5 separate regions of the Homo sapiens genome follow, and all the other regions are linked to region 1. Evidence: promoter capture Hi-C in 16 types of primary human blood cells and fetal thymus (Javierre and others, 2016). All regions are on one chromosome and are shown on one strand. The core of a region is centred on a gene start or on the middle of the fragment in contact, and the rest is flanking DNA. Distances in the headings are between cores, read along the strand shown. Region 1 holds the start of HTR3A (5-hydroxytryptamine receptor 3A). Region 2 overlaps ZBTB16 (zinc finger and BTB domain containing 16). Region 3 overlaps ZBTB16 (zinc finger and BTB domain containing 16). Region 4 overlaps ZBTB16 (zinc finger and BTB domain containing 16). Region 5 overlaps USP28 (ubiquitin specific peptidase 28).

Region 1 (2,789 bases), core at 100-2,599:
TGAAAGGATGCAGCCCTGACCAAGGTAGTTTCTTTCTTTTTTTCTTTCTTTTTAACTTACCTACAATTCAGAAAATTCCTCCTTACTGCAGGGTTCCTAGCCTATTCCACACTTAGAGTCAAGTGGAAAATAAATTAAAAAGGAAGAAAATGTTTTGTTGTTGATACTTAACTTGATTGGTACGGGGACATCTACCCAAATGGTGAGCTAGGGTAGGACTCCTTCAAATAAAAATGCACAGTAATTCTTCTTGCAGGCAACTTTAGGGGTACACAGCTGAGGCCTGAGGGATAGATACTTGTCTATTTAACTTGCAATGAAGAAAGAAACACTTCTTTCAAGAAAGACGCTTCCATTTAAGAGGAAGGTATTGAAAATGCTTCCGAGGCCAGGTGTGATTGCTCATGCCTCTAGTCCCTTTGGGGGACTACCAAAAATACAAAAATTAGCCAGGCATGGCTCGCATTTGTAGTCCCAGCTCTTCAAGAGGCTGAGATGGGAGGATCAGCTGAGATGGGGGAGGTTGGGGCTGCAGTGAGCAGTGATTGCGCCACTGCACTCTAGCCTGGGTGACAGAGCGAGACTCTGTCTCAAAAAAAAAAAAAAAAAGAAAGAAAGAAAAGAAAAGAAATGCTTACGAAATGATATCAAGCAAAAAAAGAGGGCACAAAATTATATGTATGTGATATTTACTTCATTGTATACACATTACTGAAGAAAATTATGGAAGAATATATACCAAAACGTTAAGAGTGGCTGTCTCTGAGTCATAAGTTTACAGATGATTTTAATTTTTCTTCATATTTTTCTACAAAGTGCATGTATTATTATTATTTTTACTATATGTATTTATTATGTATGGCAAGAATGCATGAAATAAATATGTATAGTAAAAGTTTATTTTTATTATATATTTTATTATTTTTAATATATATTTTACTATTTAAGTATAACTAATTAGATGAGGACAAAAGGGCAGACCTGTGGTGACTCCAGTTACCCTTCCCGTAACTACAGAGGTGCCCAGTCACCTGCTTGGTTATGTCACCCTGGGGAGTAAAAGAATGGTCTTCCTGCTCCTGCCTGACTCACCCTATCCTGCCCCAGCCCAGTGCCACAGAAACATACTTGCCAAGGGACATCAATGAAAGCAGCAGCGTGGTGCACCTCCCAGGGGTCAGGCTGCACCCTTGTCTCATGGGCTTCTGCAGCCCCTGTCCCCACCTAAGTTACTCCTTGGGGAAACATGGCCAAGCCCCCTGGCTGAATGGGTGGACTGAGCTCCCACAGCATGACATCAGCTAGGGCGGGCTCCCCTCTCAGCTGTCCCCTCCCCTTTCCTCCCGCCTGAAACATGATCCAGCTGAAGGACTGATTGCAGGAAAACTTGGCAGCTCCCCAACCTTGGTGGCCCAGGGAGTGTGAGGCTGCAGCCTCAGAAGGTGTGAGCAGTGGCCACGAGAGGCAGGCTGGCTGGGACATGAGGTTGGCAGAGGGCAGGCAAGCTGGCCCTTGGTGGGCCTCGTCCTGAGCACTCGGAGGCACTCCTATGCTTGGAAAGCTCGCTATGCTGCTGTGGGTCCAGCAGGCGCTGCTCGCCTTGCTCCTCCCCACACTCCTGGCACAGGGAGAAGGTAAGCAGACTTCGGGAAGCAGCAGGACTTGGCTGACCATCTGCTGAGGTGGGGCAGGGGATGCTTCAGTCCTCCGAGGGCTGTGGAGAGGAGGGTGGGGAACAGTGCAGCTGCAGGAAGGTCAGCTATCTTACCACCTATGAGCATGACAGCATTTGAGGCATCATGGTTAAGCTAGAGAGAGTTAGGAATGTTGAGTCCTGGGGTGGGGCAAGAGCGGAGCTTGCAAAGAAGGGAGCAGAGAAGTAGCCTGGCGTATCAGAAATAAAAAGACAGGCACCAGGAGGGGGCTCCTCTCCTTTTTGTCCTTTCCCTAAACTATTTGAATGAAAGCTGCAAGGGACCTTAGAACTCATTGGGTCCACCCTTGCCTGTTATAAATGGGAATGCTGTGGCCCAGAGAGTGGGGAGCGGATAATTCATTCAAGGTCACACAGCTTGTTAGCAGCAGAGTGGGGACCAGAACTAGTCTAGTCCTCTTTCCTCAGCTTCACTGGTTTTGTTGCATGAGTTCGTTCTCTGGGCCTGCGGTTCCCCAAGTTCCTTTCCAGGACTAAACTCCAGTAACGCCCAATTTCTCTCCACATTCGCTACACCCATCTTCTCCTGACTCCCTTGAATGTAGGGTGTTTTAGCCACAAAGGGACCGGCTTCCTTTTGCTGCAGACCATGTTCATTCCCCTCTAGGAGGTTTCTCTCCCTACAGAGCTGGGGTGGAGCATACTGGGGCACAATTAGAGGAAGCCATCCAGGGGTTGGACAGACGTGAAGAGCTCTGGGTAAGATGTCCTTCCTCCCGGGAGCGGTCGTTTGGGAGTGCTCCGTGGGTTAAGCAAACGCAAGCTGTAAGTGATGACTGTGGTCGAGGGCTTCCTTGACTGAGAAGAAACTCTGTCCCTCCTAGCAATGGTCCTTTGCCCCGGGCCTGCTGGGATGAGTTCAGTGCTCTCCAAGCTGGTCAGGATCCCAGTCAATAGGACCCAGGCTCTTGCTGGTGTAGTAAAGACGCACACGGGTCTGCGTTTGAATCTCAGTTCCTCCACTTGCAGAGCAAGGTGCTCACCTTTCTGGTGCTTGGGGATCCTTGTGTGCAAATAGCCACTCTGGTGGACTGTTCTAAAGTTAAATGAAGAATATGTTTATTGATGTTATTCC
Region 2 (2,789 bases), core at 163-2,662, 240 kb after region 1:
AGAAAGTCTGCTCAATTGGGGTGGAGGGATTTGGAAGCCAGAGAGAGGAGCTTATCTTTTTTTTTTTTTTCCTGCTTATAGGTGGAAGTTGCTTCTTTAATATAAAGATTTCTGGATCTATGAGGTTAACTGTGTCCAGTTAATTGAATTTATAATTCAGCACCAAAACGCTGAAAAGAATTGTCTTTTATGTCCCTTAATGAGTGCTATAAAAACAAGTGGTGAATCTAATTTTACGAATGTTCCTTTATGACTTACCTGATAACTAGTAGTTGTTCAACACAAAGGACACATAACTCAGTCTGGACCTACACTGGCTGCCTGCCGTAAAATAACTTGTTTTAGAAGTTGGCCTTCTTGCTTCTCTTGAGTGGCCCAGGGATTCACTTGTTCCCTTCTCTGCTCCCTCTTCTCATTGAGGATCAGGCTCGGGTTCTTCATTCTGGAGGATTGAGATGGGTTACCTTCCCTGCCAGTCCAGGATGACCAAGACCTCACATCTCATTGGCTCTTTCCAAAAAGGGGAAGGGAAAGATATGGCAGCTCATTCAGATGTCTCTCTGGTGCAGCATATTGCTTCTACCTAGAAGTTGCCTGGTGTGCTAGCAAGAAAAGAGAAATTAAGAGAAAGACTCCTTTTGTCTTTACCCTACAACGAGAGGTAAAGAGCTTTACAGCCGCAGCAGCCGCATTAGGTTAGACATTGGTGAGAACTTCCTGAGTTGCAAAGATGTTCCTAAGAGAGACTGATAACTGTCCATCTCTGGAGCTGCTTCAGTTGTGAGTGGGCACATATATAGATGCCCTTATCTTTTTATAGCTTTTGTCTTTTTTTATGTTTTGAAAGTTTAATTTGAATTATTTTGTGATTACAGATCTTACAGGTAGATGTTGGGTACAAAATTCAGGCATTCTCTGATGGCTATTTGAGAAAGGTTGGCTGTTCCCATCTGCAATAGTCAGGGGCAGGAGCCTGGACTCACAGGCCAGTACAGCACTCAGGGAGACAGCCTAGAAATGGAAGGGCTTTTGGAGGAGGGAAGCTCTTGAACAGAGCAGACAGGGTAGGGGTGTGGGAGCGTTGATGAAGGAAGGCCAAGATAAGGCTGTGGTTTCCATTTGTTACCACCTCTCCCGCTTATCTTGAGTGAGAACAGGCCCTACAGCTCTGAGCGAACCTTTCCATGGGGCTGTTGAGCTGTGAAGAGGACATATACGAGCTCTCCTATCCTCTCTTCCCAGTGCACCCTTTCCCTTGCACACACAGGCACCTGTAAAGGCTGCAGCTTTGGTCTATTGGATGGGTGGGGACAAATGCAGAAGTGTCCCTGTTCTGGGTGCTGATTACTTCCTAGCAGAGCTGGGGGGTGGACTGGCACATTTGTCCTTCATGATCTGAGTCTTACCTCTGCTGGCCTTGTGCTCAGACTGGCTGGTGGGCCATCTTCTGCCTTGTCCCACCCTTACTAGGCTGATAAATTGCTGTTCCAGTCAACAGGGCTCTGACCCAGCCCTTATCTTTGGTCAGAAGGAGGCTGGGTGACAAGGACAGGGGGAGGGGCTGCTGCACAAGCCCAGCCTTTGGACACTGGTAACCTTTTGTGGGGGAATGTACACCCAGCTGCTTTGGGGCCCAGAGGAACATTCTGGCAAGACAGTGCTATCAGCCTAAACTCATCACACCGGAGGCAGCCTGCAGCATATACACATTTCTCTTGACTTACAGGAGACTGGAGATGGAGGGAAATAAGAAGTCACCTCCCCTTACCCCCTATTCTCACTGAGTTGGCATGACACTAAAAGATCCCCTATTCCCTATCATTTTCAGAAGAACCAAGACGGCTTGCCACTCATTCATTCAACATTTATTGCATATCTACTATGTGCTTAAATGCTGGGAATAGAAAGATGACTAGACCCAGTCTCTTGATTCAAGGAATTCAGAGTTGAGAGGAAGACAGACACATAAACAGGCAATTATAATGCAGAATGCTGAGTGCAGCGATAGAGATATTTATTATACACAGGATACTGTGGTAGCCCAGAGGAAGGGTGCTCAGCAGATACCCAGGGGACAGATAAGGCTTCTAGAAAGGAAGACACCACAAGGTTTTCAAGAAGTAGAAAGTAGCCAGGATGAAGGGAGAGAAGGACAGAAGAAATGGAACTGTATGTGTTTAGAAACAGTGACACTGTGGCCTGAGTAGCTCAGCTGAGATAGAACGTGGTGGATACAGTTGGAGGCATAGGCAAGCCCAGGCCACAGAAACTTGTTAGGCTGTGTTTAGGAGCCTAGATTTTATCCACAGATGACAAGGAGTTCTTGGAAGCCTTTAAAAAGGAAGTTATGAGATCAGATACATTTTGGATAGGTCGCACTGGTGGTTCTGTGCAGGTGAGATCAGAGGGAGGTAAGCTGTGTTTAGGAGACTTTTGTGGCTATCCTGATGAGGGATGCTTACATGATAGAAAATGAGCTGGATTGGGGTATCTCAATCCTAATGTCAGGCAAGAGGACCTAGAGGCCTTCGGGGTGACGTCCAGGCATCTAGCTCGAGTGACCAAGAGGATGTTAGTGCTGACAGCTGAGATGGAGATCCAGGCCAAGCAGGTTTGAGAGGCGAAGATGTGGGTTTCAGGTTTGGATATTCAGGTTGAATATAAGATGTCTGCGGAACATCTAGGGAGCAGCTAGGTATATGGATTTTGTGCCCAGAAGAGAAGTCCAGGCTGGAGGCCTCCTGGCTTCCTGGTGGTCACTGAGACCGTGAGAGTAGAGTTCACCTGGA
Region 3 (2,789 bases), core at 112-2,611, 220 kb after region 1:
ATCTGGTGTCAGACTATCTAGATTCCAATTCCAGCCCCATCACAGATTGGATAATCTCAATATAGGCCTCGCATGGAGTAAGTGCTCAGGAAATGGAGGTGCCAGTTTCTCTCATCGCATCATCCTGGTCTTCCTCAGAGGCTTCTGAGAACATGGATTTCCCCCACTGGATAGGTTGACGGGGCCAAGTCAGTGAGGATGGTGTTGGAGGAATAGGAACAGTATACACCTGCTTTGCAAGGCCATGGTGAGGTCTTCCAGGATCCCTGACTATGTCCTCCGGCCAAGAGGACATTTGCAATGTGCCCACTGAGTTAACAGCCACTGGGGCCCTCTCAGTGCAGTTGAAAGAAGTGAGGGCAGATTGAAGCTCCACACTTTGAGCAATCTCAGGGAGCAGATTTGGTAGATCTTAAGGCCCTGAGGTCTGGAATGCCCAAAGCTTCCCAAAGGAACCATTCCCTGTTGGTGTCTAAACAGGTGATGTGTAAACCCAGGCCAGACAGGCCGCAAAACTGGAATCGAGACTAAGCAGGTGTACCAGCCTCCAGGAGCACCAGGCCTGTGCCCTTCCACGTCTTAAGAGGAGGCTTCAGTGACTGGTGCCCTCAAAGGCTCAGGAATTTTGGGTTCCTGGTAGGGTCCTGAACCATGTCTGCTATCACCAGGAACCTGGGTATTCCCTATCTCTTGACTTCTTCAAATAGAACCTTCCACCTCATCCTACCTTTTCGCCAGTAAGAAAAAAGAGGCAAGGTCATTCCTAGGTTTAGAAGTTCTGAGGCTGGGAAGCTTAAGGGCACCCTCTGCAGGCCCAGGGTACTAGGTTGAACTAGACCCTAGACTTACCCTGGAGGAATTCAGCTCTCTCCTCCAGCCCTCAACCTGCCCTGCAAGGTCTGCCAGGTTAGTGACTCAAGTTTGCTGTGAGAGTAGCCTGTGTAGCTGGCTTATCCTGTAGTTCCTTCATTTCCTCATTCTCTGAGTTTTTAAGTACCTACTGTATGCTAGGTGCTTTGTGGACTTAATACATAATAGTGAACAGAAATTGGGCCCTGCCTTCCTGAAGGTTACGGTGTTATGAAGGAAATGAGCATGTAGGTTGAACTTGCCTTAGGTACAGATAATTCAATAGCTGTACTCTTTTGGATACTTTTGAGTTATTATTTTTATTAAGTCTTCACTATAGTCCAAAAATATAGACCTTTTTTCCTCCCTAATCTTTGCCAGAGAAAACTGAGTCCCAGAAAGGTTAAGGAAGACCAATCTGGGGCAGGACTTGAATGTGTGCCTTGGGCTTCTGTACCCCAGAGCCCACATTTTAGCATTGTCTTCCCTCCCTGTGGGGGCCTGGGCATCAGCTCTCATGTGCGGATCAATGGATCAAAGCCCCTATTTGAAAAAGGGGGTCAGTTAAGAACACACAATCCAAACTAGAATTAGGGCCCACGAGTTCAGCCCAAGGTTCTCTCCACTGTGACTACAAAATAAGTACTTTCTTTTACTGGCCTAGAAAAGGTTGCTTAGTTTCCACATTACTGCGTCACAGGGGAAGCCACTCAACCAGATGCAAATGTTGAGATGCTGGTTCTCATCCACTGTGTTGTCGGCTGCAAGAGTCTTGCAGTCCAGAAACGGCATACCTCTGGCGGCTGAGGGTCCATGCTGTGGACTCTGCCCTTCCCTTCTAGCAGGGAGTGGGCATTGGAGGGAACCCCACCCAAAGGGTCCTCTTCGTTTCAGTGTGAAGGAGTCTAGGAGGCATATACTCTGTCTTCCCCCCACTCTCTGTTTCTCTCTCTTTGTCTCTCTCTCTCTCTTTGCACTGTGTGGCCTCCCCCTTTGGAGGTGCAGAACTGTCTCTCCAACCTTGGTGTTGGCTGCCTGCTTGCACTGGCCCCTCTCTCCTGATATGTTAATAATATTTGGAGGAAGCTTCAGAGACAGTCCCTGGCTCTGAACTTCAGAGTAGAAAATGAAGTCCTTGTTTGGAGAATTTTCTGTAGTGGGTGATCATGGTGGGGGCAGGGGGTGGGGTGGGAGTAGCAGGCAAGACAGAGGATTTATTTTATTTTAATTATTATTTTTGAGACAGAGTCTCGCTCTGTCGCCCAGGCTGGAGTGCAGAAGGCAGAGGATTTAAAAGGGTGAGCAGCAACGCTCCTTCCCTCAGGATAGCTGCTGGCCTTGCCCCCTCCTGCCCTGAGCTTGGCACGAGGGACAGTGCTGGGCACCAAGGAGTCCTGTAATGATAGGAAAACTGGCAACTGTTCTAGTTCCTGCTCTCAAGAACAGCCTCCCAGTGGCTGGTCCCAGAGGAGCTGGGAGGGGGCCAGATGATGACAAATAACTTAATCTACCTAAACTTTACATGAAAAAAAAAAAAAATCCAAACGAACCTCAAACCTCTGTCCAAGGTGGAGGGTATCGGGGAGGACAGGACAGTGAGTCATCAGAGGGACAGGCAGACTCCATGTGGTTTGCTGTGACCTCCCCATTGAAAACATAATAGCATTTGACTTTTATAAATATCAGAGGTGATTTGTATAGCATTTCACATTCTGTGCCAAGGAATTTAACATGAGAAAGCTCAGGCTGAAGAACGGCCGCGGAACGTCATAGGCACTTTGGGAGGAGGGTCATGTGCTGCTGTTTGTACAGTCAGTGCCCCAGCATAGATTTACTCTTGACCTAATTTCATGCTGTTACTATAAAGGCATGTTTGATGCCTAATATAGAGTTTTATTTTCCAAGCACAGGGGCTCTCGGCTGTGCTGGAGCTGCTTGCT
Region 4 (2,789 bases), core at 189-2,688, 200 kb after region 1:
AAGTGAGGGAAGCCAAGAATGCCATCGAGACTGAGGAATGCTGCCTCCTATTCCCTTTAAAATACCTCCAATGAGGTATGTCATTTGGCAGGAGTGTCAGGAGATGCTGGGGGACCGGGGCAGGGCCAGGTTATCAGCTTGAAATGGGTGGAGTAGGCACTTGGATCCCGGCCACCACCCTTGGAGGGGTCTTAGTCTTCTTTTTTCCATTGCCCAGCCAGTATTGTGAATCCTACTCAGGGGAGAGGGGTGTGTGTGTGTGTGTGTGTGTGCGTGCGTGTGTGTGTGTGTGTGTATGTGTGAAATCCTCCATGCCATATTTAGGGTGGGGGCCTGTGACGGAGCATTCTGAAGTTGCTTCAGAAGAAAGGAGCAGAATAGATGAGGATGAGAGGAGACCGAAGGCTCAGATCACAGGCTGAGCTTTGGGACTGCTGGGGGCCAACAGAAACTTCTCTTTTCATTCTGAACTTCTCTCCTGAGAATCCCCAAGGGGAGACCTGGGAGGAGGGTGATTGTTGGTGTTTAGGAGTTGCGGAGATGTCCCATAAAATCATGGCAGAAACCCTTACTCTTATATCCCTGGCTTTATTATCCAGCCTCTCACAAATGCCAAGGTTGCAAAGCTATCTATCTCTCTTAAACAAAACAAAGTTATGAACACTTGAAAGCCCAGGTATTCCCTGGAACTCGGGTCAGTCTTTGGCACAGCCGCACTGACCCAGCCTGACTCTGGCTAATGATTCTCCCAATGTCTGGACTCTCTGTTCCATTCTACCTGCCTGATAGAGCAGAATATTCACCTTGAGAAGGATTCTGCTGGCTGAACCGGGGAACCCAGCCCTCGCTTGGTCTCAACAGCACCTTCCAAACACCAAGGGTTGTATGCATTTGAGCTCTCGTGTACGGCCACGTTTAACTTTCTTTGCCATGAGCGCCCAGCTTCTCATGAACACCTGTTCATCCTTTCTCCCTTAGAGATGTCCCAGTTTAAAACTTGTCATTTCAAGATGGAGAGATAAAGGGATTCACCAAGGGTTACACAGCTCAGGCAGTGACAGTCAGGACCGCAAGTCAGTTTCTTTTGGTACTTTGGAAAATCTTGGGTGCGCTGGCCAGCAGAACCCTCCTTGAGCCAGTTATCTACCCTGTCTTACCTAAGGGTGGTCCTGTCTCCCATTCCAGATAGCATAATATCATGTATACGAGAGCCTTAGAGAACATAGTGTCTCATTTATGCAGGCCATTTACTTATTGCGATTGGGCTTCTCCCAGAGCTGTGGGACTGGAAATACTATGGGCTGCATACCCTGTAGGCTGTGGCCAGGAGCTGTCCTCCTGGAGCTCATCAGCTTGATGAAGTGAAATTATTCTATAATCATGATAATGACTGTGACTTGAGCACCTGCTATGTGCCAGGTACTTCATATAGTTTCTTGTTTAAGCTATCATATGAGGATGAATAGCTACATTTTCAGGAGGGAAGTGAGGCTGCGAAGTTGATGCTGGTACCGTACCGGTAGAACCTTAAAGCCGTCTCTGGATTTGAGCTGTTGCTGTTGCCAGGCTGGAGTGCAGTGGTGCGATCTCGGCTCACCACAACCTCTGCCTCCGGGGTTCTAGCGATTCTCCTGCCCCAGGCTCCCGAGTAGCTGGGATTACAGGCATGTGCCACCATGCCCGGCTAATTTTGTATTTTTAGTAGAGATGGGGCTTCTTCATGTTGGTCAGGCTGGTCTCCAACTCCAGACCTCAGGTGATCCGCCCGCCTCGGCCTGCCAAAGTGCTGGGTAATTACAGGCATGAGCCACCGCACCCGGCCCGGGACTTCATTTTGAGGGGGCCTGACCGTTAACCTCCGAGAGATCTCTCAGTTGGCAAAGCATGTCTGGAAGGAAGTCTGGTTCATCACAGCAGGGACTGACATTCCTGTAGTAAGAGAGATTTTGTGCCCTTGTGCTGACTACCACAATACCATGATTGCTCAGTCATAGAAGTTGCCAGGAGAAGAAAGAGATTAGAAGCAATGGTAAGGTGAACCCCTGAGTCACTACTCTTAGACTTCAGGAATATTTGTAATTTTTTTTGGAGACAGAGTATCACTCCGTCACCCAGGCTGGGGTTACAGGCACAAGCTATTGCACCTGGCCTGTATTTTTAAAAAATCTGCAACAAATTTACTATCCTACTTGCATTTTATTTAAAATAATTCACTCATGTATTTTTAAAAACATAAATCATCTCAAACTGGTTTGCATTCCCTGGTTCCCTTCTGGGTAGGCAGTAGGAGGGTAATAATACCATTAAACATTGGCCATGAGTGATGATGGGAGCAGACGGTAGGGGTGTCATTTCCTTGATCTCCTCCTGGGGAAGAATGATCTGACCCCATCTTTACTGGTGTGTTTTGGCTGGAGAGGTAAGAATATTTTAAATTGCGTGATATATCTCTTGCATGCATTTGATGTTTGTGTGTGTCTTATACCTTGCTATTATTTTATCTCCTGATGACAATGATGATGTTGGTCTTAATGACAACTAGCATTTATTGGGCTATTATTGTATGCCAGACAGGGTATTAAACACTTTACATATATTATTTAAATTAATCATCCCTCAACCAACCCTGTGGCATAAACACTCTGAGCCCAGTTTTCTAGGTAAGAAACAGGCCCAGAAGAGATAATTCACTTCTTCAGGGTGGTAGCTAGACATGGTAGAACTGGGACTTGAACCAGAGTTTGTTTGATTCCAGAGAGCGTGCTCTTCACTACCTTACTGTGCAGCTT
Region 5 (2,789 bases), core at 144-2,643, 160 kb before region 1:
ACAGGGTTTTACCATGTTGGCCAGGTTGGTCTTCAACTCCTGGCCTCAAGTGATCCGCCCGCCTTGGCCTCCCAAAGTGCTGGGATTACAGGCGTGAACCACCATGCCGGGGCGATGTTTCCTTACTTACGCCACACAGTAAAGTTTGAATACTACAGGCAAAAGCTTTCTACTATCTTACTTATAAAATGTTCATCATAAGACCTCTCATAGAGGATGTGAAAGAAAGAGAGAATAATGTAAATTGAAAACACCACAGAATTTGGAGAATTGTATTTGAATCTTGGGACTGCCATTTATTGACTATGTGATTACTCAACTTTAGAACCCTTTGGAATCTGTTATCCAGCTGGAAAATGAAGATGACAACATTTTCAAACTCTTTCCCTCCTTTTCACAGCTGTAAGTTCTTAGAGAAATAAAAGTTTGAAAGCATGCTTTAAGAAGTAAAGTACCAATATAAATGATAATTATTATTGCTCTCTGTATGAGTAGTAGTATTACAACAACTGTGAAACTATTCAGGCAAATACACCTGTAAAATTTAGTTATTCTGGGCCCCACAACTGTAATCCCAGCACTTTGAGAGGCCGAAGCAGGCAGATCACCTGAGGTGAGGAGTTCAAAAACACCCTGGCCAAGATGGTGAAACACCGTTTCTACTAAAAATACAAAAATCAGCTGGGCATGGTGGTGGGCACCTGTAATTCCAGCTGCTTGCGAGAGTGAGGCAGGAGAATCACTTCAACCTGGCAGGCGGAGGTTGCAGTGAGCTGAGATTGCGCCACTGCACTCCAGCCTGGGCGACAAAGCAAGACTATGTCTCAAAAAAAAAAGAAAGAAAAAATTTAGTTATTCTCCAAAGGGTGCAAAAATATATGTACTATCAGCACCATAAGATGGGGCAAGAAAAAAAAAAGATGTCACTAAAAACAACAACAACTAGAGAATTAGTCTATCTACGAGTAAATTTTAAAAATACGTATATTCCACACAATGAATTACTATATAGTTGTTAAACAGTTAAGATTCTTTTACTAAAAATATAGAGATTGCTAAATACTCGATTAATGAAAAAGGTTCAGAGTTGAATGGAAAAATAATCTACTTGGGGAAAAGGGGGAGGGGAAGATACAGATAAATAGAATCTAGCATATGTATACAATGTGTCTTGAAGACTACATAAGAAACCTAACATTGTGTACTTGTTGGGAGTGGGACCCATGGTCAAGGAAGAAAGTAGTAAAGCAAACTTGTTTTTCCTTTTCATTTCCTTTTATACTGTCTATATTTTTTAAATCTATTATTATATAATAGTAAGTTGTAAATTTTTTAAAAAGCAGTACAAGACTGTTCTTCTCCCTGAGCAGTACAGATTTTCCCCAATCTATAGATTCTGCCAAGATACTTTTACCTGCATTGAAGTAGGGTAGTTTGTCATTAATGTACATCAGACAGTAAGCACTAACATTTCTCAGGCCTCCATAGGAATCTCTTTCAACTTCTTCCCAGGAAGATTCAGTAACAGAGATGTCATTGTACTTGAGCCAGCTCTGTCGGGGTTGATTATAGATATAGGCCCAATAGTGTCCAGCATTTGCTTGTCCTTCATGAACAAGAACTGCATGCAAGCGATAAGGCACCTGTAAGTCAGAATGTACATTCCCCAGTCAGGTGAAGCAAAGTAATCTGATAAAGTTTAGGTTATTAAGAAATTACTGTTTATGATGTGATTAATGTGGGGTTCATATTAAAACATCTTGTTGATTCAAGATGAAGTCCACAAAAACACAGCCTTGGAATTGATCAATTATGTCTCAGTTCCAAAACCTTGAAAACCAGATCGCTGAACTACATGACCTCTCTGAAGACTCTTTCAACTCTAAACTCCTCAGATCTAAAACCAAACATAACCTAAACATATGCATCCTTCTAATTCAAAACTCTGTTTATCTAAAAATAGAATCACCTTGACCACTCATGCTGAAAATGCTTAGCATATTTGGGACCTACAAAGGTTAGCAGCTATTTTGTTCCATGCCTATTTTATTTGGCAACAAAATTTAAGTTAACATATTTAATTCAGCCACATGCTTCTTAGAGTTAAGTGACCACTTATCTATCTGGAGTGAAGACCCTTTTAATGACATACTTGTTTGTTACAACATTTGAAAAGCACATTTGTGTATTTTCAATATAGAGAAAATAGAGCAATGCTTAAATGCTAACTAAATACTAGTAAAAGAGATGAAAGTCAGTCACAGAATCAAATTAAATTTACACTTACTTTGACCTATTTTAATTACTGGTGAAGATTTTTGAATTAACACAAAAGAAAAAATGGGGAAGCCTGCGTTTTACATGGTGCATTCCTGTTAAGCAATGGGACTGTGCCTCAATGCCATTCTAGAAACAGGGCTCCCCTCCTCCAAGCCATTCTGCCCATTCCAGTCATTCATACAGAAGCCACTGAAAGTCCATGCCCCTAACCAGAATAGGTTCAGAGACACTCCTGGAGGCTCTTTACCCCTCCATTCCCAGAATTTATTCTAACAAACACTTCTGTGGATAGTTAAGAATTTCTGTCCTAACTCTCTTTTGGAATTTATTATTACAGAAATAAAGCTTGAACGCATGTTGTTAAATTAAAGATCTTGAAGAATCATGGAACTTTGGGAAAGAAAGGATAACTGTTCTCTAGTTCAGTTTTTCCCACTGCACTACTTAAAGTACCATTTTGTAAGTAATTTTTATTAGTATCTGACAGCAAACCTTTCTACAATATGAAA

Evidence for each region. Contacts are between HindIII fragments. The CHiCAGO score rates a contact against its expected background, and 5 or more counts as called.
Region 2: a contact is called between a fragment that was not itself captured here and the fragment with the promoter of HTR3A in region 1, in 2 of 17 cell types (neutrophils and naive B cells). The highest score is 5.3, in neutrophils.
Region 3: a contact is called between a fragment that was not itself captured here and the fragment with the promoter of HTR3A in region 1, in 2 of 17 cell types (total B cells and naive B cells). The highest score is 9.6, in total B cells.
Region 4: a fragment that was not itself captured here is called in contact with the fragment with the promoter of HTR3A in region 1 in 1 of 17 cell types (total B cells); the score reaches 5.9 in total B cells.
Region 5: a contact is called between a fragment that was not itself captured here and the fragment with the promoter of HTR3A in region 1, in 1 of 17 cell types (total B cells). The highest score is 5.8, in total B cells.

The regions. Positions count from the first base shown.
Region 1 is chr11:113,973,759-113,976,547 of GRCh38, forward strand. It overlaps HTR3A (5-hydroxytryptamine receptor 3A), which reads left to right and starts at 1,350. Exons shown (of 9, transcript NM_000869.6): 1 at 1,350-1,634. The coding sequence starts at 1,568. RefSeq lists enhancers at 913-1,574, 1,575-2,234. The HindIII fragment of the contact is 9,568 bases long and covers 1-2,789 here.
Region 2 is chr11:114,214,930-114,217,718 of GRCh38, forward strand. The region is part of intron 4 of ZBTB16 (zinc finger and BTB domain containing 16); the gene reads left to right. Among named protein-coding and RNA genes, the nearest start is that of NNMT, 80 kb to the right of the region's middle. RefSeq lists an enhancer at 958-1,252. The HindIII fragment of the contact is 6,628 bases long and covers 1-2,789 here.
Region 3 is chr11:114,195,651-114,198,439 of GRCh38, forward strand. The region is part of intron 4 of ZBTB16 (zinc finger and BTB domain containing 16); the gene reads left to right. Among named protein-coding and RNA genes, the nearest start is that of NNMT, 99 kb to the right of the region's middle. The HindIII fragment of the contact is 1,143 bases long and covers 791-1,933 here.
Region 4 is chr11:114,175,730-114,178,518 of GRCh38, forward strand. All of the region lies in intron 3 of ZBTB16 (zinc finger and BTB domain containing 16), which reads left to right. Among named protein-coding and RNA genes, the nearest start is that of ZBTB16, 120 kb to the left of the region's middle. The HindIII fragment of the contact is 5,598 bases long and covers 1-2,789 here.
Region 5 is chr11:113,810,862-113,813,650 of GRCh38, forward strand. USP28 (ubiquitin specific peptidase 28) reads right to left here. Exons shown (of 26, transcript NM_001346252.4): 16 at 1,415-1,643. Among named protein-coding and RNA genes, the nearest start is that of CLDN25, 32 kb to the left of the region's middle. The HindIII fragment of the contact is 2,460 bases long and covers 164-2,623 here.